5 separate regions of the Homo sapiens genome follow, and all the other regions are linked to region 2. Evidence: promoter capture Hi-C in 16 types of primary human blood cells and fetal thymus (Javierre and others, 2016). All regions are on one chromosome and are shown on one strand. The core of a region is centred on a gene start or on the middle of the fragment in contact, and the rest is flanking DNA. Distances in the headings are between cores, read along the strand shown.

Evidence for each region. The method cuts DNA at HindIII sites, captures the fragments that hold promoters and counts their contacts. A CHiCAGO score of 5 or more calls a contact.
Region 1: the fragment with the promoter of LDHAL6A here is called in contact with the fragment with the promoter of IGSF22-AS1 in region 2 in 11 of 17 cell types (erythroblasts, activated CD4 T cells, total CD4 T cells and 8 more); the score reaches 9.3 in erythroblasts.
Region 3: a contact is called between a fragment that was not itself captured here and the fragment with the promoter of IGSF22-AS1 in region 2, in 2 of 17 cell types (activated CD4 T cells and naive CD4 T cells). The highest score is 9.3, in activated CD4 T cells.
Region 4: a contact is called between a fragment that was not itself captured here and the fragment with the promoter of IGSF22-AS1 in region 2, in 1 of 17 cell types (activated CD4 T cells). The highest score is 5.6, in activated CD4 T cells.
Region 5: a fragment that was not itself captured here is called in contact with the fragment with the promoter of IGSF22-AS1 in region 2 in 3 of 17 cell types (activated CD4 T cells, naive CD4 T cells and total CD8 T cells); the score reaches 9.3 in activated CD4 T cells.

The regions. Positions count from the first base shown.
Region 1 is chr11:18,451,561-18,457,783 of GRCh38, reverse strand. LDHAL6A (lactate dehydrogenase A like 6A) reads right to left here and starts at 1,928. Exons shown (of 7, transcript NM_144972.5): 1 at 978-1,928. The coding sequence starts at 1,103. LDHC (lactate dehydrogenase C) reads right to left here. Exons shown (of 8, transcript NM_017448.5): 8 at 5,721-6,223. The HindIII fragment of the contact is 8,824 bases long and covers 1-6,223 here.
Region 2 is chr11:18,705,081-18,711,239 of GRCh38, reverse strand. It overlaps IGSF22-AS1 (IGSF22 antisense RNA 1), which reads right to left and starts at 4,759. Exons shown (of 3, transcript NR_186353.1): 1 at 4,091-4,759; 2 at 3,847-3,962. IGSF22 (immunoglobulin superfamily member 22) reads left to right here. Exons shown (of 23, transcript NM_173588.4): 16 at 412-585; 17 at 785-913; 18 at 1,557-1,853; 19 at 2,945-3,033; 20 at 3,244-3,436; 21 at 4,027-4,326; 22 at 5,094-5,423. The HindIII fragment of the contact is 1,081 bases long and covers 3,694-4,774 here.
Region 3 is chr11:18,504,705-18,510,181 of GRCh38, reverse strand. TSG101 (tumor susceptibility 101) reads left to right here. Exons shown (of 10, transcript NM_006292.4): 5 at 517-640; 6 at 3,259-3,325. Among named protein-coding and RNA genes, the nearest start is that of TSG101, 19 kb to the left of the region's middle. The HindIII fragment of the contact is 1,107 bases long and covers 1,552-2,658 here.
Region 4 is chr11:18,477,545-18,483,221 of GRCh38, reverse strand. It overlaps TSG101 (tumor susceptibility 101), which reads left to right. Exons shown (of 10, transcript NM_006292.4): 9 at 1,353-1,592; 10 at 2,587-2,911. The coding sequence ends at 2,676. LDHAL6A (lactate dehydrogenase A like 6A) reads right to left here. Exons shown (of 7, transcript NM_144972.5): 6 at 5,479-5,602; 7 at 3,621-4,516. The coding sequence ends at 4,352. Among named protein-coding and RNA genes, the nearest start is that of LDHAL6A, 25 kb to the right of the region's middle. The HindIII fragment of the contact is 942 bases long and covers 1,113-2,054 here.
Region 5 is chr11:18,550,645-18,556,615 of GRCh38, reverse strand. All of the region lies in intron 7 of UEVLD (UEV and lactate/malate dehyrogenase domains), which reads left to right. Among named protein-coding and RNA genes, the nearest start is that of TSG101, 27 kb to the right of the region's middle. The HindIII fragment of the contact is 7,996 bases long and covers 1-5,769 here.

The DNA of each region.
Region 1 (6,223 bases), core at 679-3,178, 250 kb after region 2:
AGACCTCCTGCTTGAGGCCAGGAGTTTGAGAGCAGCCTGGGCAATACGTGGAGGCCCCATCAAACAATCAATGAGTCACAGATGTGTTGGTTTTCACGTGTGTGTATTCTTCATTAGCAGTGAGGACACTGCTGATAAAGGCATTACAATAGGTAGGACAAAATGAATCATGGGGAATTTGTATGGCTGGCAGGAGCAGCAGTTGGCTGTGGCTGCTGTCCTTAGTGCCATAAGGTCACTATGTCATCTAGATATGAAACCCAGAGGCAATCCTTTAAATCCAATGACTCATGCCAGGATTAAAGGTTATATAAAAGATGGCTAAAACATTTTACAGATATTTCATTAATAAAAGTATAGCTCAGAGTGTCTTATGATTTATTAAAACTTTATGGTAATAAAGTTCATATCAGGGTAATATTCTTAGAAAGGGGTCAGAATCTTTTTTTGGCCTCTGTCTATAGCCATAAAACTTTATCAGCTGTATCAATACTAAGAACAGCTAAACACTAAAACTAACCTAACATGAATAAGGAACGAAGGGAAATAAAGATATACAGACTAGGAAATGGGAGAGAGATATTTAAATGAAAAAAGATTATTGTATTTGGTACTCGTAGGCTGCCTACCATCACTGACACGCTTGTATACTCTTTTCTGCCACCTATTTCTCTCCAGTTTGTTTTGTGAGCTGAGTTTCCAAATCAAGCAAAGGGGTACCTCATATTGTCATTACGTGAAAGTGAAATGTCAACATACTTTCACAGAGATGCTTCTAACCCACATGATATCATCATACAATTTTTAAAAAGGAGCGCCCTCTGGGTGAACAACTAAAAAAAGGGCACCTTTTCCTCTGATGCCCCTCACACTGGCTCCCCACTCACCACCTTGAACTGGACACAACCTCCACAACCATACGCTGTGGCCTCGCCTCCAACTGAGGTGAACCCTGTGGTGCAGAGCACACAACTTACTTTTAATAAGATGCTGATAGCACAAGCCACACCAACCGATCCAGTTCCTACAATGGAGATCTTATTGTGATGAATGGCCTCCTCTTCCGCGAAATTCTTAATAAGTTCACTCTTGATAGTTGCCATCTTGGAAACCTAACAGTGAAGACAAATTGCACAGCCATTTCCAAGACCTGGAATTGGAAATGGCTTGGAATTCCAAGACCTGCGGTGAGAGCGCGTATAGAGAACTCCTGGGCCCGTGTGGAAGGAGGTGCTGCAGACACACAAAAGACCGACAAATCTGACCAGCAAAGAAGCTGGGTAGGTTCTGGCCAGGCAGCTCAGCATCCATGAAGCGGACCAGGGGAAGGAGAAGGAAGCGTGAGTACAGTTAAGAGGAATTAAGAGAGAGAGAGAGGAAAGGAACAGGGGTTGCTCCACCAAACATGAAACTACAGCTGGGACGGCACTCCGTCCCGCAGCTGACCCCCTTTTCTCTCCCCTTTACCCTGCTGTTCCCCCAACCTCCAGTTCTCAGCTCCAGGACTGCGCCCGGGGTCCGCAGGTCCAGGTGAGAGGTACTTCTGGCCACACTCACAGGGGTGAAGGGCCACCCGCGCCCGAGCAGGTCACATGCCGCCTGGCGGAGACACAGAACCATCCTTGGGCAAAAACAATTCGCTCCCGCGGCGCCCGCTCTCTGGCTGCTCCCCAGGACTCTTGCAGCCCAGCTCATGGCCACTCACTCAAGAGGTGAAGAAAGAGAATGGAGGAAAATGGCGTTAAAGCTCATCGAGGCACGAAGGAGATGAACCGCCGACTAACAGACGCCGGGTCGCCCCCTTACTGCAGCTGCGCGGACCGCACCCAGCTCGTGCAGGCATCGCAGGTGTGATGCTTGGCAGGTGTGATGCTTGGCAGGTGTGATGCTTGGCAGGTGTGATGCTTGGCAGGTGTGAGGCCGGAAGCGGGCTGCGAAGCACCGCGCCTGCGCCTCTGCCTGCCCGCCCCGCCCCCGCGTGCGGGTGGGCGGGCTGCGGTGTAGGTGGTTGGCCGGCTGCAGAAGGCGCACGAGGTGCTGCAGGCACAACGCAGTGCAGGGCCTCTGCTGTTGGGCGGAGTTGTTTGCCTAGAACCCATCCACCAGAGAGCCCAAGTAATTTTATTTCTAACCAAACCTTGTCTGGATGTATCTGAAAAGGACTGTTTGACTCTCACGTGAAAATTTTCCCCCAGCCCTGTAGGAGAAAGGGACCTCAAGATTAACTTTTACCACCTCAAATGTGAGCTAAAGTAGAAAAAGTAAAATTTTAAAACTCTGGGCCGAGCGTGGTGGCTCACGCCTGTAATCCCAGCACTCTGGAAGGCCAAGGCGGGCGGATCACCTGAGGTCAGGGGTTCGAAATCAGCCTGGCCAACATCGTGAAACCACGTTTCTACTAAAAATACAAAAATTAGCTGGACGTGGTGGTGCACCCCTGTAATCCCAGCTACCTGGGAGGCTGAAGCACAAGAATTGTTTGTGAACCTGGGAGGCGGAGGTTGCAGTAAGCCGAAATTGTGCCACTGCACTCCAGCCTGGGTGACGGAGTGAGACCCTGTCTCAAAACAACAACAAAACTCTGTATGCAAAAGGAATTTGGAAATAAGATATGAAACCTGAAGAATTTGATGAATGCAGTGCCAATTGATAACCATTTTTACAAGATGAAGGGAAAGCTCAATTCATTATTAAGTGGTTAAATGTAGAATCCACACTTTGGGAGGCCGAGGCGGGTGGATTAGCTGAGGTCAGGAGTTCGAGACCAGCCTGGCCAACATGGCGAAACCCCGTCTCTACTAAAAATACAAAAATTAGCCGGGTGTGGTGGCACGCACCTGTAATCCCAGCTACTCAGGAGGCTGGGGCAGGAGAATCGTTTGAACCCGGGAGGCGGAGGTTTTGGTGAGCCGAGATCATGCCACTGCCCTCCAGCCTGGGTGACAGAGTGAGACTCCGTCTCAAAAATAAAAAACAAAAATGTAGAATTGAAAATCAGTCTGGAATAAACCAAGGTTTCTACTTCTCCCACCACATTTTACCTAATTGTTTTCTCATTTGTGAATCATAATACGTAATTTTGATGGTTAATACTGAGTGTCAACTTGATTGGATTGAAGGATGCAAAGTGTTGAACCTGGGTGTGTCTGTGAGGGTGTTGCCACAGGAAATTAACATTTGAGTCAGTAGGCTAGAAGACGCAAACCCACCCTCTATCCGGGTGAGCACCATCTAGTCAGCTGCCAGCACGTCTAGGATAAAAGCAGGCAGAGGAACGTGGAGGGACTAGACTGGCTAAGTCTTCCAGCCTTCATCTTTCTCCTGTGCTGGATGCTTCCTGCCCTCAAACATTGGACTCCTAGTTCTTCAGCTTTGGAACTCCGACTGACTTTCTTGCTTCTCAGCTTGCAGACGGCCTATTGTTGTGGGACCTCACCTTGTGATTGTGTGAGTCAATACTCCTCAATAAACTCCCCTTTATATATATAGCTATCCTATTCGTTCTGTCCCTCTAGAGAACCCTAATACAGTAATACATATTGACAAATTTTTATAAAATGTAGAGCAGTGTTTCTCAATCTTTTTTCATTATCACTCCCTCAAGAGTCTTTGTAGATATGTTCCCCCTAATTGTTTTGCACCCCCATCATGAAATTAAATATTAAGGAGTTGGCCGGGCGCGGTGGCTCACGGCTGTAACCCTAGCACTTTGGGAGGCCGAGGCGGGCGGATTGCCTGATCTTAGGAGTTCGAGACCAGCCTGGGCAAAACGGTGAAAGCCCGTCTCTACTAATATAAAAGAAATTAGCCAGGCGTCAGCTACTCGGGAGGCTGAGGCAGGAGAATGGCGCGAACCGGGGAGGCGGAGCTTGCAGTGAGCCGAGATCGTGCCACTGCACTCCAGCCTGGGCCACAGAGCGAGACTCCGTCTCAAAAAAAAAAAAAAAAAAAGGAAAGGAATTAGCCGGGCGTGGTAGCAGGCACCTGTAGTCCCAGCTACTCAGGAGGCTGAGGCAGGAGAATTGCTTGAACCTGGGAGGTGGAGGTTGCAGTGAGTGGAGCTTGCGCCACCGCACTGCAGCCTGGGTGACAGAGCAAGACTCCATCTCTTAAAAAAAAAAAAAAAAAAAAAAAACCTATATATATATATATATATATATATATATATATATATATATACACACACATACACATATACATATACGTTTATTTGTCAGGCAAGGTTGAGCTCTGGAGAGCCAAACTCTTGTAATATCTAAGTTTTTTTTTACCTTTTCCTCCCTCCCCCATACCCAGAACCAATTTTCAGCCACTTGGGGACATGTAGAGCAGTTTTACTTACTAGAATGTTCCCTGTAGAAACTGTATCAATTTTTCAGCCTTTTAATCTCTGCAAGAATTTCCTAAAATGAAGTTTTGATGTACAAACGAGCTTTTAAAAAAGCCAAAACCCACAGAAGACTCCCCTTGCCCTCATCCTAACTCAACTGATAATAATTGTATATATTCAAGGGAAGATGCTGAAGAAAAAGGGGAAATAATAAAATAATGGGACACTAATCATGATCAGGAGTAGATGACCAGAATGAAAGCTATCAAGAGAGCAAGAATAACAGACTCAGAGGGTAAGCCATGACTCTCTGACCAAATGAGTCAGCCTTCACTAGTCATGCGAGTCCTCAGGGGCTGCATATCTACCTTCTGATCTTTCCCATTGGTCCAGTTCTAGTCTTAATTTGTAAATTGACCAGGAGTGGTGGCTCATGCCTATAATCCCAGCACTTTGGGGGGCCGAGGCAGGAGGACTGCTTGAGCCCAGGAGTTGAGGACCAGCCTGGGCAACATGGTGAAACCCTGTCTCCAAAAAATACGAAAATCTGCAGGGCGTGGTGGCATGTGCCTGTAGTCTCAGCTACTCAGGAGGCTGAGGTGGGAGGATCTGATGAGCCCTGGAGTTCGAGGCTGCAGCGAGCCACAATTACCCGCTGCACTCCAGCTCCAGCCTGGGTGACAGAACAAGACCTTGTCTAAAAAAAGAAAAAAAATTGTAAATTACCTTGATACTGATTTCTTAGTTTTTGTTTTATTGTATAGTTCCTATAGCTGCCTTAAATTTCTTGTGGAATCAAGGAAATACTTCATATGTATCTATATACTATATAAATCAGTAGAAGCATTTTCACCTTTAGACACCAACAGGGAGCTATTAATGACTATTATCAAACATTAGTCAATAATCAGCCGGGCGCAGTTGCTCACACCTGTAATCCCAGTACTTTAGGAGGCTGAGGTGGGCAGCTCACTTGAGGTCAGGAGTTCAAGACCAGCCTGGCCAACATGGTGAAACCCTGTCTCTACTAAAAATAAAAAAATTAGCCAGGCGTGGTGGTGGGTGCCTGTAATCCCAGCTACTTGGGAGGCTGAGGCAGAAGAATCACTTGAACCCAGGAGGTGGAGGTTGTAGTGAGCACAGATCGTGTCACTGCACTCTAGCCTAGGTGACAGAGTGAGACTCCATCTCAAAAAGGAAAAAAAAATTAGTCAAAAATCAATTCGTTGAGGTACCCTAAATACTCACTGTGGATACTTGAGGGCAGAGATAATGTCATACTGATTTCATAACTATACCATAGCAAGCATAGTAATAGTCTGCTGCACAAATAACTGAGGATGGCATAAGCTCCCCAGGTGATATTTCAATTGAGACACCAAATCAACTATTTGAGTTTATATGACTAGTATAATACTTGCAGAGTTGAATACAATCTTATTTAGATTTTTTACATCGTAAAGTTACATCTGTATCTTCTTCTTGTTTCTGCTTTTCTTCTGTGTTCTTCTTCTTCTTTTGAGTCTGAGTCTTCCTCTGTGGCCCAGGCTGGAGTGCAGTGACACAATCATAGCCTTGAACTCCTGGGCTCAAGTTATCTACTGGTCTCAGTCTCCCAAGTAGCTGGACTACAGATGCAGGCCACCACATCTAATTTCTTTATTTTTGTAGAGATGGGGTGTTGCTATGTTGCCAAGGCTGGTCTCAAACTCCTGGACTCATGTGATCCTCTTGCCTCACCCTCCCAAAGCACTGGGATTACAGCCATGAGCCACAGCACTCAGCTTTTTATTTCTTTTTGATATATATGGTCTTAAAAATAAGCATTTATAATGATTTTTTTTGAGACAGAGCCTCACTCTTTCACCCAGGCTGCAGTGCCCGGCCACATTT
Region 2 (6,159 bases), core at 3,510-6,009:
CTTTAATAATGCTAATAATACTTGCCATTCACACCAGGCATAGAATATGGGTAGGCAGGACCCAGACACTAGTTGTTGTCAGTGGTTTTTTTTTTGTTTTGTTTTCATTTTTGTTTTTACTTCCCACTTGATGTTAATGTGCAAGCAAAGTTAAGAATCATTTGTGCCAGGCACTGTGGCTCATGCCTGTAATCTCAGCACTTCGGAAGGCCAAGACAGGAGGATCACTTGAGCCCAAGAATTCAAGATCATCCTGGGCAACAGAGTGAGACCTTGTCTCTAAAAAAGGAAAAAGAAAAAAGAATCACTGGTTTGAGTTTATTTAAGCAGGCGAGGCAGAAGTCAGCATGAGGTGGGCAAATATCTACATGCTCCCCCTCCTAACCTTTGCACTCTCTCTTTCCCCCACAGAGCCTCCTGGTTTTGCCTCCCAGCCTCAAGTGACTGATGTGACTAAAGAAGCCGTGACCATCACGTGGAATGCCCCTACCCAGGATGGGGGAGCCCCAGTGCTCGGCTACATTGTAGAACGAAGGAAGAAAGGCAGCAACCTGTGGGTGCCAGTCAACAAGGACCCCATCCAGGGTGAGGTCCTTGGAACAGAGGCCCAGGAGTGACCAAAGGAGGTCTTGCTGAGTGGACCCATTAACTACTGACACAGTCCCTCATCCAACTCTTCTGGAAGTTTTAACAACATCCCATGACCTCCTCTTCTATGTCTCTCACTCTTGTTCTCACCCCATGGATGCCTCTGGCCTCACGACCCCTCATCTTCCCATTTCAGGCACCAAGTGCACTGTGGATGGTCTCCTGGAGGACACAGAATATGAATTCCGAGTTATAGCTGTAAATAAGGCAGGCCCTGGACAGCCCAGTGTGCCATCCAGCTCAGTAGTGGCCAAGGATCCTGTTAGTGAGTATGCGGCTGCCAGGTCCTGACACATAATGGAATTAGCCCATTCAAAGTAGAGAAAGAATTTCTTCCCCGGGAAAGTATGACACGAGGTATCACAGTCTCTACACTCTGGAAACTGCCAGCCTCATAGAGGGACAAGATTCACACACAAGAGAAAGCCAGCAAATAAAGATTGAGAGTCAGGGACAGTGAGGAGGTGGGGTGCAAAAACGTTTTTTAAATTTCGTGTATTTCTAGTTAGGTGAGGTAGGAGAGGCATGCTGAGGGTTGAGTAAGGGTGTGAGGTAGATGGTTGGAGGGTGTTGCATTTAGGAAGCAAGGTGAAGGTACTGCCTGGAAGTGGATGTGGTGGAGATGGTTGGGTTAAAGGCTGGGGTTTTGAATACAGAAGCTTTGAATATGTGGGGTATGTTGAATTTAAGGGGTATTGAGTTTAAGGATGAAAGTGTTAAAACAGTAAGATAACTGAATTTGAATTTGGAGGTTGAGTGTATAAGGCTAGGTACTAAGGGTGTTAACTGAGGGATCTGGAGCTAGAAGTAGTGAAGGATGGGGTTCAGGAGTATTGAGTGTGGGAAGTGAGCAAGGCATTGAGTGGAGATGAGTTGGAGGGGCTGACTACATGTCTGTTCTACCCCAGAACCCCCAGGCCTGGTCCAGGACCTGCATGTATCTGATTCCTCCAACTCCAGCATTTCCCTGGCCTGGCGGGAGCCTGCAGAGGGAGACCCACCCTCTGGCTACATCCTTGAGATGAGGGCTGAAGACACAAAGGAGTGGTCCAAGTGCACAAAGATCCCCATCTCAGGCACCTGCTACACAGTGGGAGGACTCATCGAGAGGCAGAAATACTTCTTCCGAATCCGGGCTGTGAATGAGGCTGGGGTTGGGGAGCCTGTGGAGCTAGACAAGGGGGTCCGTGCCATGCCACCACCAGGTGAGGACACAGAGAGGGCTGGGGATTCATGCCCAACATTGTACCTCCAAACCTTCTCCTCTGGGGCCTCATCCCACAGGAAAATTGGATGATGCTAGGATCATGAAAAAGTCATCCATAGTTGTTGTGCCTGGACAAAGTTAGGGGTAACTTCAGGGGCACCCCTACTAAATCAATCATTGTGTGCCAAATAGCATCTACTGTGTGTCAAGGTGTAACCACCCAATGGGTTCTTCTTGCGCATTGTACACGCAAAACCAGTTCACTGAGACCACAGCATTGCAACAAAGAGTTTAATGGACACAAGGCCAGCCATGCTGTATGGGAGACAGAGTTATTACCCAAATCAATTCCCCGAAAATTCAAAGTCCAGGGAGCCTGCTTCTGACTGGGGCCTCAGGACTTGTGGGGTGGAGGGAGAGCAGGTCCAGGTGGAGCCATCAGTCGTCAGAAATGCAAAAACCTGAAAAGACATCTCAACCACCAATCTTAGGCTCTACAATAGTGATGTTATTTGCAGGAGCAGCTGGGGAGTTGCAAATCTTGTGATCTCTGGAATAATGGCTGGTAATCTTTTATGTCTACACCTTAGCAGAATTCAGGCTCCTCACATCCTCCTAACCTGGTGGCCTTTCATTAGCTTCGCAAAGGTGATTTAGTTTGGGGGAAGACTGTTATCATCTAAGCTATAAACTAAATGTCTCTCCCAACATTAGCTTGGTCTGAAACCAGGAATGATTAAGGGCAGTTTGGAGGGTAAAGGCAAGATGGGGGTTGGTTAGATCAGATCTCGTTCACTGTCATAATTTTCTCGCTGTTATAATTGTTGCAATGGCAATTTCAAAAGGAGGTGTTAGGGTTATAGAAACAAGACACAAGGACTTGCCTTCCAGGGTCTTGCGTACTAGTAGAAGGAGACAGATGAGAAAACAAATAAATGCTTCACAGGGTTGCAGGGCAGCTAGATGTCTGTATGGCCTGTAGTGGGGGCATAAAGGAGGAGAGGTTGGGAAGGCTTTGATGAGGAGGCTTAAAGCAGAGTCTTCTTGAAAGACAGATCCATGCCTCCACCTCTGTCTCCTCCATCTCAGCTGCACCCAAGTTTGACCTCAGTGCCCGGCTGAAGAGTCACATGGTGGTTCGCGCTGGGACAGCCCTCTGCATCCATGCAGCCTTCTCTGTGAGTTGTCCCTGACCCTGACCTCCATACACTGTCCACATAACCAAGATGGCTATTGTAGCCATCACAGTCTCTGACTCTGACTCTGACTCTGCCCCTCACCAGACCCCTAGTGCGACAGCCTGGCAGGAAACTCCTCGACAATGGAGGAAGGCCTGCCCCCAAATATCATCTGTGTGACCAGTTGTGCCATCTCCTGTCACTACTCAGGGCTCACCACCACCTGACGTGATCTGGCAGAAAGATGGCGTTCCCACCAAGGGCCGAGAGACAATTACCAAGAGCAAAAACCACTCCCAGTTCCTCATTAATAGCACCAAGCGCTCTGACTCAGGGGTGTACCGAATCTTGCTTCAGAATGAGTTTGGAGAAGCACGCTATGACATCCATGTGCGCGTGGCAGGTATGGAGAGAAGGCAGAGGCCTCCAAGACCCATCCCTGTACACTCTCCAAAGCACAGCTCCCCAGTGCCGCTTGAGTTCCTACCACAGGAAAGTCATGCCTTAGGGCCATGAAGATTTCTTTGACACCACAGAGCAAGACTTTATCATACAGAGTATGGTCGGCAGAGAGAGTAGAAATGGGTGGAGGGGCAGGAGGGACAAATGGAGATGAATCCATTAAAAATTGGGGTGACTGCTTAAAGAGAGCTGGAAGCTTTAAAATAAAGCTCTAAACCCCCAAGGAAGGAATGGATTCATTTTTACTGAACAGTAACTACATGCCAGTCTCTTTACCCACTATTTCTACGAAATAGTCATTGTCAGCTCTATTTTGCAATTGAGGAAAGAAGTCTCAGATAAGTAACTTACCCCAGGTCACGAGGCTAGTAAATGGCAGAGCAGACTTCAGAAATAGTTTTCCGACTCCAAGACACCAGCTGCCTGAGACTTGCCCCATCTTATCTTCCATCGGACTTGGCAGATGGCTGGGGTGGGGACATAATACTTCAGGTGCCCCAAGGTCGCTGACAGATCTTCCAACTCTTCCAGATTTCCCTCGGCCCCCCACAAACCTACGGTTGTTTGAGGAAGTCCCCAACACAGTGACTCTGACCTGGAACCACAGCCCAGATGTGCAGGAGGACGGTGAGGCTCACTACATCATCATGAAGCGGGATGCAAGCACAGCCACCTGGTACACGGCAGCCGAGCGTGTCTTCAGCAACAAGTACACAGTGACGGGGCTGCTCCCAGGCAGGAAGTACTACTTCAGAGTGGTGGCTCGGAATGAAATCGGTGACAGTGAGCCACTTGACTCCAGGGACACCTGGCTCATCAATAAGGACCAGAGTGAGTCTGGGACTTGCAGTTAGGGTTAAGTCTGGGTGCCCTGATGGTGGGGATGACATAAGGGTCCCAAAGGGTACCCAAGAGGCAAGATAAAATCTGAAAACCATTGAGATAGAACGGTTAATATCTGGGACGCTGCGGAGAGAAGGAAATATTGGCTTTCTTCGGGGTACTTAGGGGTGAGACTAAAGTGGAGGTGGGGAGGTACCTTTGGGGGCAGAGAGGACGGTGGAGGGGCTGCGGAGGGACATAGAGCGCAAACGCGTTCTGCTCTGAGGGGAGGGTCTAACGGGGCTGAGAACAGGGGAGGGCTCTAGGGAGCCGGGAGGATGTCTGGGATCCCTGGAGGCTAGGGGTTAAGGGTGGGGGCCGCGTCGGGAAACTCGAACTGAGGAGCTAAAGGGATAAGAGGGGAGACTGTGGTCGCTGATATGACGTAGGGGAAGCTTGGAGGCGGAGTTAAAGGCTGGGAATAACCGGGTCCAGGAAGCTGGCGCTGGAATGACATCTCGGCCCCAGGGGTGTGGGAAAGCGTGGTTTGGGTGGCAGAACCCTGGAGTGGCTGGGGACGGGGCTGGGGGGTCGGGGGAGGCCTGGGGGCGGGTGGGGAGCCCTTAAGAACCAGTGTAACATTGGGCCCCCAGAGTTGGTGGCGCTGGGAATGTGGCCTAGGTCCTCGGGGTTCCGTGTAAGCTGAACTGTAAGACGTGGGTGGTGGGTGGGGGCCTTGGGGCGCCCTCACGGCCTGCCCCGCCCCGCCCGCGCAGTCCAGGACCTGAGCGCCAAGCTCAAGCCCTACGAGAAGAAGGACTGGCGCCACGCGCCGCGCTTCGTGACGCCCCTCAAGCCACACACGGTGCTCCGCGGCCAGGACTGCACCATGACCTGCGCCTTCCTTGGGAACCCGCGGCCCACAGTGACCCTCTACAAGGGCGACGTCAACATCACGGCCAACTCCAAGTTCTGGTACAACTCCACCAGCGGCGTGTGCACCCTCGTCATCCCCACCTGCACGCTCAAGGACAGCGGCGATTACAGCGTGCTGGTGGAGAACGAGCTGGGCAAGGACCGCAGCAGCTGCACGCTCACCGTCTATGGTGAGGGCGCCGCGGGGTCCGGCCTCGAGGAGGGGGAGAGGCGCAAAAGGCTGGTCTTGTGGGCCATTGGTCAACTATTTGGCTGGCACCGTTTTTTAATCTGACTGCCAACAGGTGGTGCAAACATTCTTAATTGGCCACAGTTCTTACCACTCTCCCATCCTTTCGATGTCATTTGTTATATGCCTGGCCCCTGCAGACATGAGAGTTCTCAATCCCTAGATAAGATGTGGTTTGCAACTCTTGGTGAGCCTAGACCTGCCTTCAGAAAAAAGATACTGGTGATCAGGACTCAACCAGACTCACCAATCACGATCTCTCTGGCACGGTTCTGGAAATAACCTATATGTTTACAAAATTTTGCGGGTGATTCTGATGTGCAATAAAAATTAAAACTGGTCTAGGATAAGGACCGGTGGGGGGCACAAACAAGGGAAGGAGCGAAGGGAACCCTCCCTTTTGTACATGCATGCCATGTTTCTACTCATGTGTGCACACATAGGGGGAAGCATTTTATTCCTTCCCAGTCTACTGTCTTCATAGCCACACAGCTAGCAGCATGAACTCTAAATGCAAAGCTGGCCTGCCTTGCTTTCTGTTGCTTAAATTTCCCCCAGCTTTCCTCTCATGGTAAAATCCCAAACCAAGAAGGTTTCCCCCTCCCCCACCTCTCATCTCACCTTCTGCTACTCCTGAACCTTCCATGACACTCCATTGCTGTGGTCTCCATGGTTAC
Region 3 (5,477 bases), core at 856-3,355, 200 kb after region 2:
CCCAAAGTGCTGGGATTACAGGTGTGAACCACCTCACTTGGCTAGAATCTACCTGTAATTTCAGAGTTCATAATATCTTTAATAAAAATTAATTTTAAGAACACGTATTTCCAAGATATCATTGATGTCTTTTAATGGCCTTTAATAATATTGTGACTGTTGCTCATATTCATCCCTAAATTTGTACCAGTATACTTATAATACATTGTACAGTGGCAATAAAATAAATTTTTGTTAGTTCTGTGGAGTCAAATGAAGAACAAAACTCTATGAATTTTGCAATATGCTGCTTTAACTAGTGCTATTTTTATATACTTGAAGCAAGAACCTTGCTGCACATCATGTTTAAAACCACTTAACTCTATTAAAATAAATTAATTAAATGAAATTTTCATGATTGGGGTCCTACAAAGAAAATTATCAAGCTGAGTTGAAAACCGATGAGAAATGGCTAACCTTTTTCTTTTTACTGAAAAGCAACTCTGTAGCTGACTTGAATTTTTTTTCATTTTGTAGCCACAGTCAGACTTGTTGGGGCTTATTCAGGTCATGATTGTGGTATTTGGAGATGAACCTCCAGTCTTCTCTCGTCCTATTTCGGCATCCTATCCGCCATACCAGGCAACGGGGCCACCAAATAGTAAGTAGAATTGAGATTTTACTTTAAAACTCATATAAACAAAAGAGAACAGAAACCTTTGTAAAAAAATAAAGAAAAATAATGACTTCTTTGCTTTTTAGTTTATCAAGCTAGTGGATTTTTTGGAAGTATTCTGAGGCCCCACATCTGCATGTACAGATTCCCACCAAAGACTGGCATTTGGGCTTCCATTTGTAGGTAGAAATCTAAGAATGGTTGTGCTGGATTCCAAAATGGAGGAGAAAGTGTAGAATAGAGCTAGAATTTTTAAAATTATGCATGCTGCAGAATAGCCTTATTTGATCAGCTTGGAAGCACATATAACTTGAAAGGTAGTCTGACCTCTCCTTTCTCTTTGCAACTACAAAATCAGTGTTGTAGATAAGGATTAAGGTCAACTGAAGCGTTCACATTCAGCTATTCTGGGTATACACAATTGGACATCTAGCTCTTAGCTTTCTTCTCTTTCGTACAGCCAATTCATGATTTTACCTTGTGTGGAGTGGTGGGAGCATGGAGAGAGTGTTGCTTCTCCCCTAATTGGAATATATTATCTCTGTTATCTCTATTTTCTTGAATAATTCTTACTGATACTTAAAAATCACTCTGAATAATTGTGAGTTGGTTGTACTTATTTTGAATTTACTAAATCTGCATTGATTTCACTGTGTTTTGAGCTGTGACTTTTTTTTTTTTGGTAAATTTTCTTTAAGATTATAATTAACCAAACTTGTTTATCTTACAAGACAAATTATATGTGCTTTCATTTTTCTTCTGCTGAAAATTATACTTTTTCCTTTTTAATCCATTCTTTCCTGAGGAACATCTTGGTTTATAAGCTGAATGGGAATTTAACAGAAAGAATTTTTGAACCCATTTCTCTTTCCTTCCCTACCTTCCCAGAATAAGCTTGATTTTAGGATTACTATTTCTTTTAGTAAAGGTACTGGTAATTCCTTTGGATTAGAAATTTGTTTTTATCTTATTAAATTCTGTTGACTCTAGTGCCCAAGAGTAGAGTATCTTGCTTAAGTTTGAAATACGAAATATTTGGCCGGGTGTGGTAGCTGTAACCCCAGCACTTTGGGAGGCCGAGGTGGGGGTGGATCACCTGATGTCAGAAGTTCAAGACCAGCTTGGCCAACATGATGAAACCCCATCTCTACTAAAAATACAAAATTAGCCAGGTGTGGTGGTGCATGCCTGTAGTCCCAGCTACTCGGGAGGCTGAGGCAGATGTTGCAGTGAGCTGAGATCGCATTACTGCACTCCAGCCTGGGTGACAGAGCAAGACTCTGTATCAAAAAAAAAAAAAAAAAAGATATCAAATATTTCCTAGTCTCATTACCTTTGTTTATTTGCTCAGATAATATAGCGAGTGACCGCTATGACAAAGGTAACCTTTTCAGAAATTCAGGTAGTCTCCTAAGCAACTTTTTTTTTTTTTTGAGACAGAGTCTCGCTCTGTTGCCCAGGCCGGAGTGCAGTGGTATGATCTGGGCTGACTGCAACCTCTGCCTCCCAGGTTCAAGTGATTCTCGAGCCTCAGCCTCCCAAGTCGCTGGGATTACAGGCCCCCACCACCATGCCCAGCTAATTTTTGTATTTTTAGTAGAGTCGGGGTTTCACCATGTTGGCCAGGCTGGTCTCGAACTCCTGACCTCAAGTGATCTGCCTCGGCCTCCCAAAGTGCTGGGATTACAGGCGTGAGCCACCGCGGCCGGCCTGCAACATTTTTTTTTTCCTAAATTTCTTTGAGTTTTAAATTGACATTGGAAGTGCAGTATTCAAGAAAGAGACCATACTATTGTTACTGTTGCAATTCAATTTTGTACTCAGTCACTGTAAGTCATGTTAAACACTCTAGAGCAGATTCTTTACTATTTTTTTTTGTCAGTTAAGCTCAAGATTAACTTCTCTTTTTCTTCCTCTATGTTGATTAGCCTCTTGGCACCACTGATCTTAGTTCTTTGGCATTCACGTTCTCTTTAAAGAATGTATAAAGTATTCTTTAAGCTTGCTGGGTTTTAACCTTTTATCCCTAGTATTTCTAAGCTTTTGTTTTGTTTGTTTCTTTGTTTTGAGATAGGGTCTCACTCTGTCACCTAGACTAGTTTTTAACAGTCTGGATAATGTAAGTTTTGTATAGGACTTCTCATAGTAGTTTGAAGTCTCTTGAAGTCTTTAAACCAACAAAATCAGCTGTGCTAATTGGCCAACATAGTTATAAAAGAAATATCAAAAGATTTATTAGATATAATAAAGAAGTTACTTTCTAAGAAGTTAACCTTGGACCGAAGAAGGCCAGAATTACCTTCCTCTAAATTTGAAATTGAACTTGCTCTTAGGTAATAGACTTCTTGAGAACTTTAAAAGCTGACCAGGTTGACCTGTTTGCCAGTTCTTTTGGTAGGGATTGTCATAAGTATTGTAATTCATGTTTAATGATTTCAGGATTATGAAAGGGAGAGGTATTTGTTTTGTTTTGGTGCTGAGATTTGGATTTTTTAACTGTGAAATTTTGCTGTGTATTGACAGTGTGATGTATATCTTATTCAGTAGCCTACATATTCAGGCCTTGTATATTATTTTTACAATGTGAAAAAAATTGTTTTTAGCTTCCTACATGCCAGGCATGCCAGGTGGAATCTCTCCATACCCATCCGGATACCCTCCCAATCCCAGGTAATGAAAAACGTTCTTTTGAATAATTGTATTACAAATTCTTCTATTAGATCTAGAATCAAAATAATTTGCTAATTAGGGCATTAAAATAAATTTAATTGCAATTTAGTGGAAGATAAAACTTGGTTTATTCCTGGAATTTATTTATTTATTTATTTATTTTTTTTGAGATGGAGTCTTGCTCTGTCACCCAGGCTGGAGTACAGTGGCGCAATCTCGGCTCACTGCAACCTCTACTTCCCCAGTTCAAGTGATTCTCCTGCCTCAGCCTCCCTAGCAGTTGGGACTACAGGCTGTGCCACCATTCCCGGCTAATTTTTGTATTTTTAGTAGAGACAGGATTTCACCATGTTGGCCAGGCTGGTCTCAAACTCCTGACCTTGTGATCTGCCTGCCTCAGACTCCCAAAGCGCTGGGATTACAGGTGTGAGCCACCATGCCCAGCCTATGTATTTTTTTTTTTTTAAAAGAAGAGAGTATTATAAAATATTTTTCCCCTTGGCTGAATTCATTATAACTAGCATTCCATTTAATATTTCAGCTATCTATACTAGATATACAAATTTCTTAAAAGGACTTCAAGATCAAAAACCAATTGAGATCACTGTCATTACTCAACCCATTTCTTTCCTCTTTAAAATAAAAATGCAGCCCAGGAGCTGCTTTTCTGTAGATTGAAAGAAACTCCTTTCAAATTATACACACACACCTTAAAATTCTAGCAATAAGGCCGGGTGTGGTAGCTCACACCTGTAATCTTACCCAGCACTTTCGGAGGCCGATGCAGGCGGATCACCTGAGGTCCTGAGGTCAGGAGTTCGAGACCAGCCTGGCCAACAGAGTGAAACCCCATCTCTACTAAAAATACAAAATTAGCCAGGCATGGTGGCACATGCCTGTAATCCCAGCTCTTTGGGAGGCTGAGGTAGGAGAATTGCTTGAACCCAGGAGGCAGAGGTTGCAGTGAGCCGAGATCGCGCCATTACACTCCACCCTGGGCGACAGAGCAAAACTCTCTCTCAAACAAACAAAACCCCACAACCTATCTTTTCTATACATTGCAGGAATCAATTAATGGTTCAGATAATGGGGTCAAACTTGTCGCATGATATTTACTTATTCAGTTCATAGACTACCTGTACTATCAACCTTTATTATCCATTTAGTAATAACATAGGTAACTAAATTAAATTAACAATGAAATCAGTCTGTTAACACACGCTAGAAAGTCAATGATAAATAATTACTAACCCATGTTTTAAATGTGTACTTGTTTCAGTGGTAATCTAGGAGTACTCTCCAAAGGTGGTCTATGGGCTAACTTAAAATCCCACCCAGCACTTTGGGAGGCCGAGGTAGGGATTGCTTGAGCCCAGAAGTTGGAGACCAGCCTGGGCAACATAGTAGACCTCATTTCTACAAAAAAAATTAAAATTAGCCAGGCATGGTGGTGTGAACCTGTAGTCCCAGCTACTTGGGAGGGTGAGGTGGAAGGATCACTTGAGCCTACAGATCGAGGATGCAATGAGCCGTAATTGCACCACTGTACTCCAGTCTGGCCAACAGAGTGAGAACCTGTCTCAAAAAAAAAAAAAAGATTGGCATATACTGATGCCAAGATGAGACTTCCAGCTGCTCTAACAATTAGCAAGGAAAATTTAACTCTACTAAGTCTTCTTAGTTTCATATAACCCAGTCATAATCCTCATGGATAAATGCAGCCAGATTTCTGAACACATGTCATAGGTAAATATATATATGTACATATATAATATCTAGGATCTTGAAAGTTAATTTAGCAAACACTTCATTTCTGGGTTGTCTTAATTTCACAACTTTTTAGAAGGTAATAAGCATTCTGTCACTTTGGATAGGTAAGCAGAGATTAGAAGAACATTTGTCAGGGACAATAGAGAAAGATTCCTTTGGTAGTAATATATAAGCAGGTTATTCATTTTAGATTTCTTGAGGCCCTAAATTTTCTGATTAAGTTCTAGAAATGGAATCCTACCTGAAGCCTTGAAATTACAAGGCTACTGAACAATTGCTAGTAAAAAGCAGCTTTGGACATAGAGGGAATAATTGTTGAAGGTACACTATGGAAATGGACTTCTGAACAATAAAGCTACAGATGGAGATTTCTCTGAAGTTA
Region 4 (5,677 bases), core at 334-2,833, 220 kb after region 2:
TGCCCAGCCAAAAGGCACTTCTTACATGGTGGTGGCAAGAGGAAATGAGGAGGAAGCAAAAGCTGGAACCCCTGATAAACCCATCAGATCTTGTGAGACTTACTATCACGAGAATAGAAAGACCGGCTCCCATGATTCAATTACCACCCCTGCGTGCCATCCCTCCCCACCCCCTGCTACACACACACACACACGCACACAGGTCCCTTTCTGTGAGATACAATTCAAGTTGAGATTTGGGTGGGGACACAGCCAAACCTTATCACACCTTTGCCCTAGGAAATGTTTTAGGCAAAGGATGTTTTAACCCAAAGGAGGACTGTTTGAGTGCTTGATGTTGCCAGTTACTAGGAAATAAGTTTAGAGAGTTCTAAGCCATGATAAAGATCTGCACATCTTAGGAGCAGACTTAAAAGGACAGTACTATTTTATTGTTTCCAAAGGTTGTGTGAGCCATTTTTTAAAAGTATGTTCAGGGAACTTTCTCAATAATCCAGAGATACTTGGTTGGCTAAAGAGCTACATATAAACATAGCATATGCAACCTTCAGCTCTTTAAGCTTTCTCATAACAGACAGCTATGCCTTGGACAGTCCGTGTGTAAGTCAGCCCTATGGCTTTGCTTAATGATGATAAAGTGGAAGCATCAGCATAATTGAAGTGCCAATTTCACGCTCCATTTTCATCCCCATGAGGGAGAATTTATTCCAGTAAATGTGTGTTTTTGATGGAATAGTAAAGAATTCTTAGAAGGTTGAGGGCTTTGTGGAAAGTGATTTGTATGTACCCATTAGCCTTACAAAGTGGTTCTAGATTGTAAAATGAGCCTCGAAGTAGCCAATTTTTAGAATTCAGGAAAGTGACACCAATACAACTCAGAGCCTACAACCAGCACCTGCGTGTGATACTTTGTGATTAGAATGCAGACATTTGGGCCTCTATGCATTGAATCCTCTTCATAGACTGAGGAAAGTTACTCTCCTATGGCAGGTGCCCATTTGTTGGGAAGAAAAACCTCTTATGATTTTCTATGTAAAGGAACCTTCTGCTGGAAAGTATCTTGTCTGATGGCTTAGTTTGCAGTATCATTTGTCGCTGACAGGTGACAAGCTTGTTACTGTCACTGAAAGTGCTGTCACCTCAGGATATCTCCATCATTACTCTATTTCACTCAGCATAGTAGATCACATCTTTTCCTCTACCTTTGACCAGGGTGTTATTTGAAACATTATTCTCATCCATGAGTTGTTTAAACATGGTTGTTAGCCTGTCTTTTCCTGTGAAGTGTTGTAGGTGTCTGACAAGTGGATAATTATGTACAGTTATTAATGCTTGGACTGTTCTGTTTTCAGGCCGAGGTTGATAAAAACATAGAACTTTTGAAAAAGAAGGATGAAGAACTCAGTTCTGCTCTGGAAAAAATGGAAAATCAGTCTGAAAACAATGATATCGATGAAGTTATCATTCCCACAGCTCCCTTATACAAACAGATCCTGAATCTGTATGCAGAAGAAAACGCTATTGAAGACACTATCTTTTACTTGGGAGAAGCCTTGAGAAGGGGCGTGATAGACCTGGATGTCTTCCTGAAGGTATTTCTTCATTTTACGTTCCAAGATTTTTTAACTTGGGTTGTAGAGGCACTGACCTTGCAAACCACAAACCAAGAGAGTTTCTTTGTAGTATGGATTAAGATTCTTTATCTTCCCAAAAAACACTAAATGAGATGTAGGGTTTTGCACCATCTTTTTACCTACAGAGTACTGAGGATTGGTCTGAGCAGGGGAAGAGAAGTGGGCTGGTGGCTGCAGTTCTCTGCCCACAGGCAGCATTAAGATGAGTGTAACTCTTCTGTGCCTGGGTGGATCAGGAGGTACGATCAGATTTCCATTGGTTCTTTGAGGTCATACCACCTAAATTGAGATCACTGATTGTGCCACCTCCATTTTTTATCTGTTAATTTTCTTAGAGTTATATAACTTTAGACCAGTTTTCCCACATCAAAGTATCAGGCTGCCCTTTCAAGCCCTCTTGTATGAAAGTTGTCTCAAGCTTAATGCTGTTGTACAGAGGAAAATCTAGTAAGCGAAGTTTGGCTACTGCTGTCTCTTGGGTCATGGAGAACATGGTTTTAGGGATAATAGCAGCCACCCTTGGGATATCTGATCCAGCTGTAGCTGGAGCCTGGTCAGGTCATGTGCTGATCTTGCCTATCTCCTCTCACTGTGGGGGAATGGCCAAACCATGTGCCTCAGAAGTGGTACAACCACATGAATGGCTGGATATAAACCAGAGACCCAAGAGAGGACTCTTTTTCTGTACAATCTCTTGCTTGAGTGGCATGGCTTAGGAAAAGAAAGTGTAGGTCAAACTCCTGAGCCAGATCCTGCAATGTAATGCTTTCCCTGTTGAGTAAGCCTTTATAATATGCAGCTTAAAAGCCACATATAATGAGGTATTCATTCCAAAGGTTGGCAGGTCATGAGTTAGGGTTCTTAGATCCCATCTAGGTTACAAATTGTCTATTTTATGCCTGGGCCTAAATCAAAGCCATTCTAAACTATTCAAACTTTTCTCCCCTCCCAGCATGTACGTCTTCTGTCCCGTAAACAGTTCCAGCTGAGGGCACTAATGCAAAAAGCAAGAAAGACTGCCGGTCTCAGTGACCTCTACTGACTTCTCTGATACCAGCTGGAGGTTGAGCTCTTCTTAAAGTATTCTTCTCTTCCTTTTATCAGTAGGTGCCCAGAATAAGTTATTGCAGTTTATCATTCAAGTGTAAAATATTTTGAATCAATAATATATTTTCTGTTTTCTTTTGGTAAAGACTGGCTTTTATTAATGCACTTTCTATCCTCTGTAAACTTTTTGTGCTGAATGTTGGGACTGCTAAATAAAATTTGTTGCATAATTTTTCTCTCCTTTATTGGACTTTAGGAAAGATCCATGAAACCTTAGTAAGCCCAACTTCTCATTTAGCAAAAAAGGCATAAAATCCATCTTAAGTTGAAATTTAGTATTATTCTACAGCATATAAAGTGAATTAACATGGGGATATACCAAATAGAAATCTAAATTTTGAAATATTTGAAATTGAAGCATTTGAGTAACTTATCTGTGAAAGGTCCAAGGAGATGCTCTCCTACCAACCCTACTAAATTTGTTTCCTTTCTAGGCCTCACTGAACCATAAGTGTTTTCATCAAAAAGGAGCAGAGTGGCAGGTCCAAACTATATACCTGATAACTTTAGGATTAAAGGGAAAGATAGTGTACCATTGCCTCCCTGCTTTTATTGTCATTTAAAGTTTCGTCTTCATGGTGAGTGATTCTGTAGCCAAGTTTGTGACCACCCAATGAACTATATAGCTGCTGTATGTCCTGCAGAGCTCATCCAGAATAGAATGTTCTTGATCAAAATGAGAGTGCTAGAAAGCTCATGAGGCTACAAGGCTACAAAGAAAAGTATATTCCAATTTGGGATGTTATTAAGATAATTAGGCAGCCCACTCTACTCCCAAGAGAAGAATGACCAATTTAATCTGTTGTCACCAAGCGGTTTACAGCTTAAGGCCTTTTCTGTAAAAATTAAAATGCACTCAAAGAATAAAAAACAGCAAGGTCAAATCAATGTTTTATCTAGTGTTAGGAACATTTAGATTACTCTCTGTGTGTGTGTGTATATATATACACTTTTATTTTTACATTGTAGAGATAGCATGTAAATGAACATAGGTATTAAGCCATAGAGAAGAATTACTATGCACCTGATGAAAAGAATCAGGATTTGTGTAACACAGTAAACACATTCTTGTGGACCAGATGGCAATTACGTATACATACAAGGCAAGTACTGAGAAGTACCAAAAACATCTTTGATGCCGTCACTTTAAAAAAAAAAAAAAAAAAGTGTCATCTATCATCTGGATACTAAATCAAAGCTAAGGCCAGGCACAGTGGCTCACCCCTGTAATCTCAGCACTTTGGGAGTTCAAAACCAGCTTGGATGACATGGCAAAACCCCATCTCTACAAAAAGATACAAAAATTAGGCAGGCATGGAGGCACACGCATGTGGTCCCACCTACTCTGGAGGCTGAAGTGGGAGGCTCACCTGAGCTCGGGAGGTCAAGGTTGCAGTGAGCCATGATTGTGCCACTGCACTCCAGCCTGGGTGACAGAATGAGACCCTCCCAAAAAAGAAAAAAAAAAAAGCTGGAAGGCTATACTAAATAGGTCACTCTTTCCTCTATTTTTCCAACTTTTAGAAATTCAAATTTATTCAAAAGTTTGACATATACAATTCCATAACTACTATTTCATCTTCAATCTACAGAATTAGCTTTAAGCAACTTTAAAGCTTGAGCTCCTTCTGAATTTCCCAAAGTGTTTCTGCACTCTTTTGCAAGCAGGCCTCCTCTTCAAGAGTCAGTTTTACTTTTATGAGGTCTGTGATACCATTCTCTCCCAGGATACATGGGACACTAAGGAATATGTCTTCATTTATTCCATAGAGGCCCTGAAAGTAAAGACTTAAAAATTATTCCTTTTTTAACAAAGTTCTGCAATATGAGAAACAACAGTTGGGAGGTGAATGAATAACAGATTGGTATAGTACGAACTATGGCAGAGTACCAAGGCAGAGAACTTTTTTCTTTTTTTTTTGAGACGGACTCTTGCTCTGTCGTCCAGGCTGGAGTGCAGTGGCACGATCTCGGCTCACTGCAAGCTCCGCCTCCCGGGTTCACGCCATTCTCCCACCTCAGCCTCCCAAGTAGCTGGGACTACAGGCACACACCACCACGCCCGGCCGACAGAAAACAATTTAAAACATGATTAGACATATTTATTGTTCAGTTTCAACCCACCATCTCTCCATATAGGCCCCAGCCTCCTGCCATGTTTGCTGGGGCTCACCCTTCTTTCCTCATCTCCTTACTCCATACCACTTCCTATCAGGAGACCACTTCAAAATTCCTATGACTTTGTTTGCAGTGATCTAGATCTGTCTTGTTGTATAACCTCTCCCATTTAGACTAGCAGAGGGATCTCACCCATGCCCCAACTCCCCTTTCCCCAGGAGACTAACTGCTAATTATTTTGTGTCTAGTGCTGCTTTCTTAGATCTCATCATTGGACATAACTGAAACTGTAAGAGAACAACTCCAAAGGTACCAAGGTCTGCCCATAGTGGTTCCCAATGTTTCTAGATACTGGTAGAATCAGTTCACTTAGTTAAATAATAAAGATGCCAAAACACTTACTTTTATCTAATAAAAAGAAATGTCACACTAGACCAGGACAAAGGTCTACAAAGATAGGCTCTTTCCCCAATCTCCCCACTCTTCAGCAGCAAAGAACAGACTTCAGGAAGAGAGGTGCTTCCCACGAGATCAAACCCAAAACCAGAGTGCCTCAAAAATGTTCTTTACCCCCCTATTTTATGTTGAGTTAATGATTTTTCGAACATGAATGTCCTACCTTACTTAGGGTAGAAACTGGATGCACTCTCCTAAGATTCTTCAAAATACTTTCTGTTAAATCAGCTACAGATAGGCTAATGCCCCAAGAAGTATAACCTTTCATTTTGACCATCTCATAGCCACTGTAGATAGAAGAAACCATAAACATAAGTTAAGATGCACTTGTCATTGAACTTCCACTTTGTAGCAATGTATCT
Region 5 (5,971 bases), core at 522-3,021, 150 kb after region 2:
GTTATGGGTAAGGTCGGATTATAACATGCTATAGTTGTTTGGCTTTCCTTTGCCTTTCCTTAGGTCCCCTTTATTCCTTGACAATATTTTCCAAATAATATATAAAGACATACAGTATTACAAGCCTCAATAAACTAAGGAATGGTAGTCAGAAAAGTTGAAATTATACCTATCAGTTGTAAAAGTTAGGTGTAAAAGTTTTAGTAAGCCTTCGGCTGCCTGTAGGATACAATGAGTTCATTTTCCTTCTCTGGAAAGAGTACCATAGTTGCTTTAAGGATCTTTTTTGTAGGTCTCATGTAGAAGTTCTTTGGGGAACTGGATATTCTCTTGTGCCTGTGATTTTCAGGTACTGAAGTTCTTAAAGGACCTCTTAACTCTTCAAAATCACTTTAGGAGACTCTTCAGTATATGGACTCTAGAGGTTGTGAGGCCACGTAGGACTGAAGAAATTGTTTCTTCCTGTGTGTCTCATCAACCATCAATAGGTATTGCTTCAGATAATTGAAAGACTAGAATCCTTGGAATAGATGTGTAGTGCATGGTGCTTGCCACCAAGTAGGGAGTCAGTAATTATCTGTTGAATGTTGAATGAGTGTATATCATCTTGGGGTAACTTTCATTCATGTTCCCCTTATTAATTGTGGTTGTACATTTTTTTTTTCTAGAGACAAGGTCTTGCTCTGTGGTCCAAGCTGGAGTGCAGCGGTGCCATCATAGCTTATTGTAACCTCAAACTCCTGGGTTCAAGCGATCCTCCCACCTCAGCCTCCTAAGTAGCTTGGACTACAGGCATGTGCCACCATTCCTGGCTAATTTATTTTCATTTTTGCAGAGACAGGGTCTTGCTATGTTGCCCTGGGTGGTCTTAAACTCCTAGCCTCAAGCAGTCCTCCTGCCTCAGCCTCATAAGTATCTGGGACTACAGGTGCACGTCACCATACCCAGCTTGGTTGTATATTTCTGATAGCATTTATTTAATTACTATTAGATGAAGTAATTTTATTTATTCATTTGTTTATTTTTTTTAGACAGTGTCTCACTCTGTTGCCCAGGATGGAGGGCAGTGGCAGAATCATGGCTCACCGAAGCCTGGATCTACCAGGCTCAAGTGATTCTCCTATCTCAGCCTCCCAAGTAGCTGGGACCACAGGCATGCGTCACCACATCTGACTAATTTTTTTTTTTTTTTAAGACAGTCTCGCACTTTCACCCAGGCTGGAATGCAGTGGCACGATCTCGGCTCACTGCAAGCTCCACCTCCCGGGTTCACACCATTCTCCCGCCTCAGCCTCCCGAGTAGCTGGGACTACAGGTGCCCACCACCATGCCCAGCTAATTTTTTGTATTTTTAGTAGAGATGGGGTTTCACCATGTTAGCTAGGATGGTCTTGATCTCCTGACCTCGTGATCCACCCTCCTCAGCCTCCCAAAGTGCTGGGATTACAGGCGTGAGCCACCGCACCTGGCCCTAATTTTTTCATTTTTTGTAGAGACAGGGTCCCACTATGTTGCCAAGGTTGGTCTTGAACTCCTGGATTCAAGCCGTTCTCTCTCCTTGGCCTCCCAAAATGCTGGGATTACAGGCATGAGCCACTGCAACCATCCTTAGATGAAGTAATTTTAAATGTAATGTTAACTGACTTCTCATGAATATATTCTGAGATATGGCGAAGTACATCAATAATTCGGGGAATTAAAGCTCATTTGGAAATTTTAGTAATGCCCCATTGTAACACACATAGATGACTGCAGCTGACTGATCATTTGATGTCTTTTTTAATAGCTACTATAACATTTTGGGGAGGGATATACATATATACATATGAGCATGAAAATTTACATACAGATACATACATACACACTTATGCTTGTGTATATACCGACAATCTGGAGAAATACTAAGAAACTGTTAAGATGTTGGGCACGGTGTCCCATGCCTGTAATCCCAGCACTGTGAGAGGCCGAGGCGGGTGGATCACCTGAGGTCAGGGGTTGAGGACCAGCCTGGTCAACATGGTGGAAACCCATCTCTACTAAAACTACAAAAAATTAGCCAGGCATGCTGGCGGGTTCTTGTAATCCCAGCTACTCAGGAGACTGAGGCAGGAAGATCGCTTGAACCTGGTAGGCGGAGGTTGCAGTGAGCTGAGATTGTGCCATTGTACTCCAGCCTGGGCAACAAGAGTAAAAACTCTGTCTCAAAAAAAAAAAAAAAAAAAATGGCCAGGCACAGTGGCTCACGCCTGTAATCCCAGCACTTTGGGAGGCCGAGGCGGGAGGATCACCTGAGGTCGGGAGTTTGAGACCAGCCTGACCAACATGGAGAAACCCCATCTGTACTAAAAATACAAAAATTAGCCAGATGTGGTGGTGCATGCCTATAATCCCAGCTACTCAGGAGGCTGAGGCAGGAGAATTGCTTGAACCTTGGAGGAAGAGGTTGCATTGAGCCGAGATCGTGCCATTGCACTCCATCCTGGGGGCAACAAGAGCGAAACTCCGTCTCAAAAAAAAAGAAACTATTAAGAGTAGTTGCTTTAGGAGTCAGACCGAGGGAATTGATTTTGCACTTGTTTTTTGCATATAATAGTATATATATTTAAATCCTTTTATCTTTTTATTGTGCCCAAATACACATAACATAAAATTTACCATTGGTGACTTTAGGTACTCATTCACAATGTTGTGCAACTATCACCACTAATTTCCAGCATTTTCACCACCCCAAAAGGAAGCTCTGTACACATTGAGCAGTTACTCCCCATTTTCCCTTCTCCCAGGTTCTGGCAACTACTAATCTGTCTGTTCTGTGGATTTTCCTCTACTAGCTAATTTATATAAATGGAATCATATAGTATGTGACTTTTGTGTCACTTCGCATAATGTTTTCAAGGTACATCCATGTTGTGGCACGTGTCAGTGCATCATTCATTTTTGTGGCTAATGTTTCTTGGTATGGATATAGCACATTTTATTTATCCATTTATCAGTTAATGGACATCGGGTTGCACTTTTTCACTATTGTAACTAGTGCTACTATGAACATTCATGTACCAGTTTTTTTAATACCTCTTTTTGGTTCTTTTGGATGTATATCCAAAAGTGAAATTGCTGGATTATATGGTAATTTGATCTTTAACTTATTAAGGAATTAATTCTACACTTTTGAAGATGTTTATTAACAGTACATATAGCTCTAAGTAACTCTATTTCTTTGAAAACGTTCTACATAATATTCCATCATATGAGTGACTGTATTTTCTTTTTTCTTTTCTTTTTTTTTTTTTGAGACAGAGTCTTGCTCTGATGCACAGGCTGGAGTGCAGTGGCACAATCGTGGCCCACTGCAACCTCCGCTTCCTGGGTTCAGGCTATTCTCCTGCCTCAGCTTCCCAAGTAACTGGGATTACGGGAGCACGCCACCATGCCCGGCTAATTTTTTTTTTTTTTTTTTTTTTGAGACGGAACCTCACTCTGTCACCCAGGCTGGAGTGCAATGGCGCTATCTCGACTCACTGCAACCTCTGTCTCCTGGGTTCAAGTGATTCTTCTGCCTCAGCCTCCCAAGTAGCTGGGACTATAGGCGCATGCCACCATGCCTGGCTAACTTTTTGTATTTTTAGTAGAGACGGGGTTTCACCATGTTAGCCAGGATGGTCTCGATCTGCTGACCTCGTGATCCACCCGCCTTGGCCTCCCAAAGTGCTGGGATTACAGGGGTGAGCCACCACGCCCAGCCTAATTTTTTTTCTTTTTGAGACCAAGTCTCACTCATTCAGGCTGGAGTGCGGTGGTGCAATCTTGGCTCTCTGCAAACTTCACCTCCTGGGTTCAAGCGATTCTCTTGCCCCAGCCTCCCGAATAGCTGGGATTACAATTGTGTGCCACCACACCTGGCTAATTTTGTATTTTTAGTAGAGACAGGGTTTCACCATGTTGGTCAGGCTGGTCTTGAACTCCCAACCTCAGGTGATCCGCCCACCTCAGCCTCCCAAAGTGCTGTGATTACATGCGTGAGCCACCGTGACCAGCCTAATTTTTTAATTTTAATTTTTATTTTCATTTTTTGAGACAGTCTCGCTCGGTTGCTCAGGCTAGAGTGCAGTGGTGCCATCTCGGCTCACTGCCACCTCCGCCTCCTGGGTTCAAGTGATTCTCCTGCCTCGGCCTCCTGAGTAGCTGGGATTACAGGTGCACACCATCACACCTGGCTAATTTTTGTATTTTTAGTAGAGACGGGGTTTCACCATGTTGTCTCAGGCTGGTCTCAAAACTCGTGGCCTCAAGTGATCCACCTGCCTTGGCCTCCCAAAATGCTGGGATTATAGGCGTGAGCCACTGCACCTAGCCTTCAGGAAGATTTTTAATAGCTATAATTTTAGCACAGTTTTCTAGATTAAGGGTCATTATCATTAGTATGAGAGAACACACATTTCTAAAATTTTGGGTCATATTAAATAATTTGAAAAGAGTATATTCAATAATTTTTAGTACCGTAAGAATGGCTTAATGATATACCAGATAAATGAAAATATGTGTAGTGTCTTCAGTATATTCAGACTGATAGAGTAGCTAGAATATTTCAGTAGGTCTGCACGGTATTTACCCATCATTATTTGATACAGAGTTACCTGGTCTTTCAGTATTTTAAATAATCAGCAGTGTTTTAAAATGAGTTCATATTTCATTCATCATAACATTGGCCTCATAATCCGAGAACAGTAGTATATTAAAGCATGAAATATTATTTACTGGGTCTTTTGACATACTTGATTTGATCATCCCTTAGTATAACTGTGACCAGCCTTTGGTTTAGGTTGTAGACCTTGGCTTAGCAGGAAGGATATAGTTTTTTCTGGGCTACCTATAGAAATGGGAAAGAGGTGAGAGGCTTGTGTCCTGGTAACACAGATGCTGACTGAGTTCTTGGCATGGGAGGAAACTTAGCATTATGCTAATGTCTAAGTGGGACAACTCATATTTGAACCAGGCGGTCTCATTCTGAAGCCCTCCTTACTAACCCTTGTACTACATTGTGTGATATATAGAGTAGGGACAATATCATGTTCACTTTTGTGTTCTTAGGGCCTAACACATTACCTGTGACATGACAGGACCTTAGTAGGGGTTTGTTGAATTCATTATTGTCGAATGAACTTTTATCCTGATCCTCTTTTTTTTTTTTTTTTTGTGATGGAGTCTTACTCGGTTGCCCAGGTTGGGGTGCAGTGGCGCGATCTCAGCTCACTACAACCTCCTCCTCCCAGGTTCAAGCGATTCTCTTGCTTCAGCTTCCTGAGTAGCTGGGATTACAGGCACGTGTCACCACGCCCGGCTAATTTCTTTTTAGTAGAGACAGGGTTTCACCATCTTAGCCAGGCTGGTCTTGAACTCCTGACCTCGTGATCCGCCCACCTCAGCCTCCCAAAGTGCTGGGATTACGTGTGTGAGCCACTGCACCCGGCCTATCCTGATCCTTAACCTTGTAATTTATAGCTTTAATAATCATGCTTAAAGTTCTTTCTAATTCTCTTTATAACTGTATAATCTTCTTCCCTTGTTAAATCATCAACTTGTAAGGGAAGACTTGAAAAGTCAAAGATTTTGAGTGCCAGGTACAAGGAACTTAGTTGCCTGTGGAGCAATGCTAACCAAACCTGGCTGTGCATCAGAATCATCTGGGGGTTTGCATTCTGGAAGCTATTTCCCCTTATATATTTAAGTAAAATCTTCAGAACATGGGCTAATCTGCATTTTTATTAAGCTTCCCAGGTTAGGCTTAGGCACCTAGCCTAGCATTTAAGAACTGCTGCAAGAGATTGATAGAAATGGAAGACTCTATTTGGTCAGAAGCAGCTTAAAGTTTAGATAAAAAGACACATGCAATATATAAACAGTTATTCATGACAAGAGAGTGAGGAGGCACTATGTGATTAATGCCAAGAGAGTGGTCCAGACAGTGAGGACT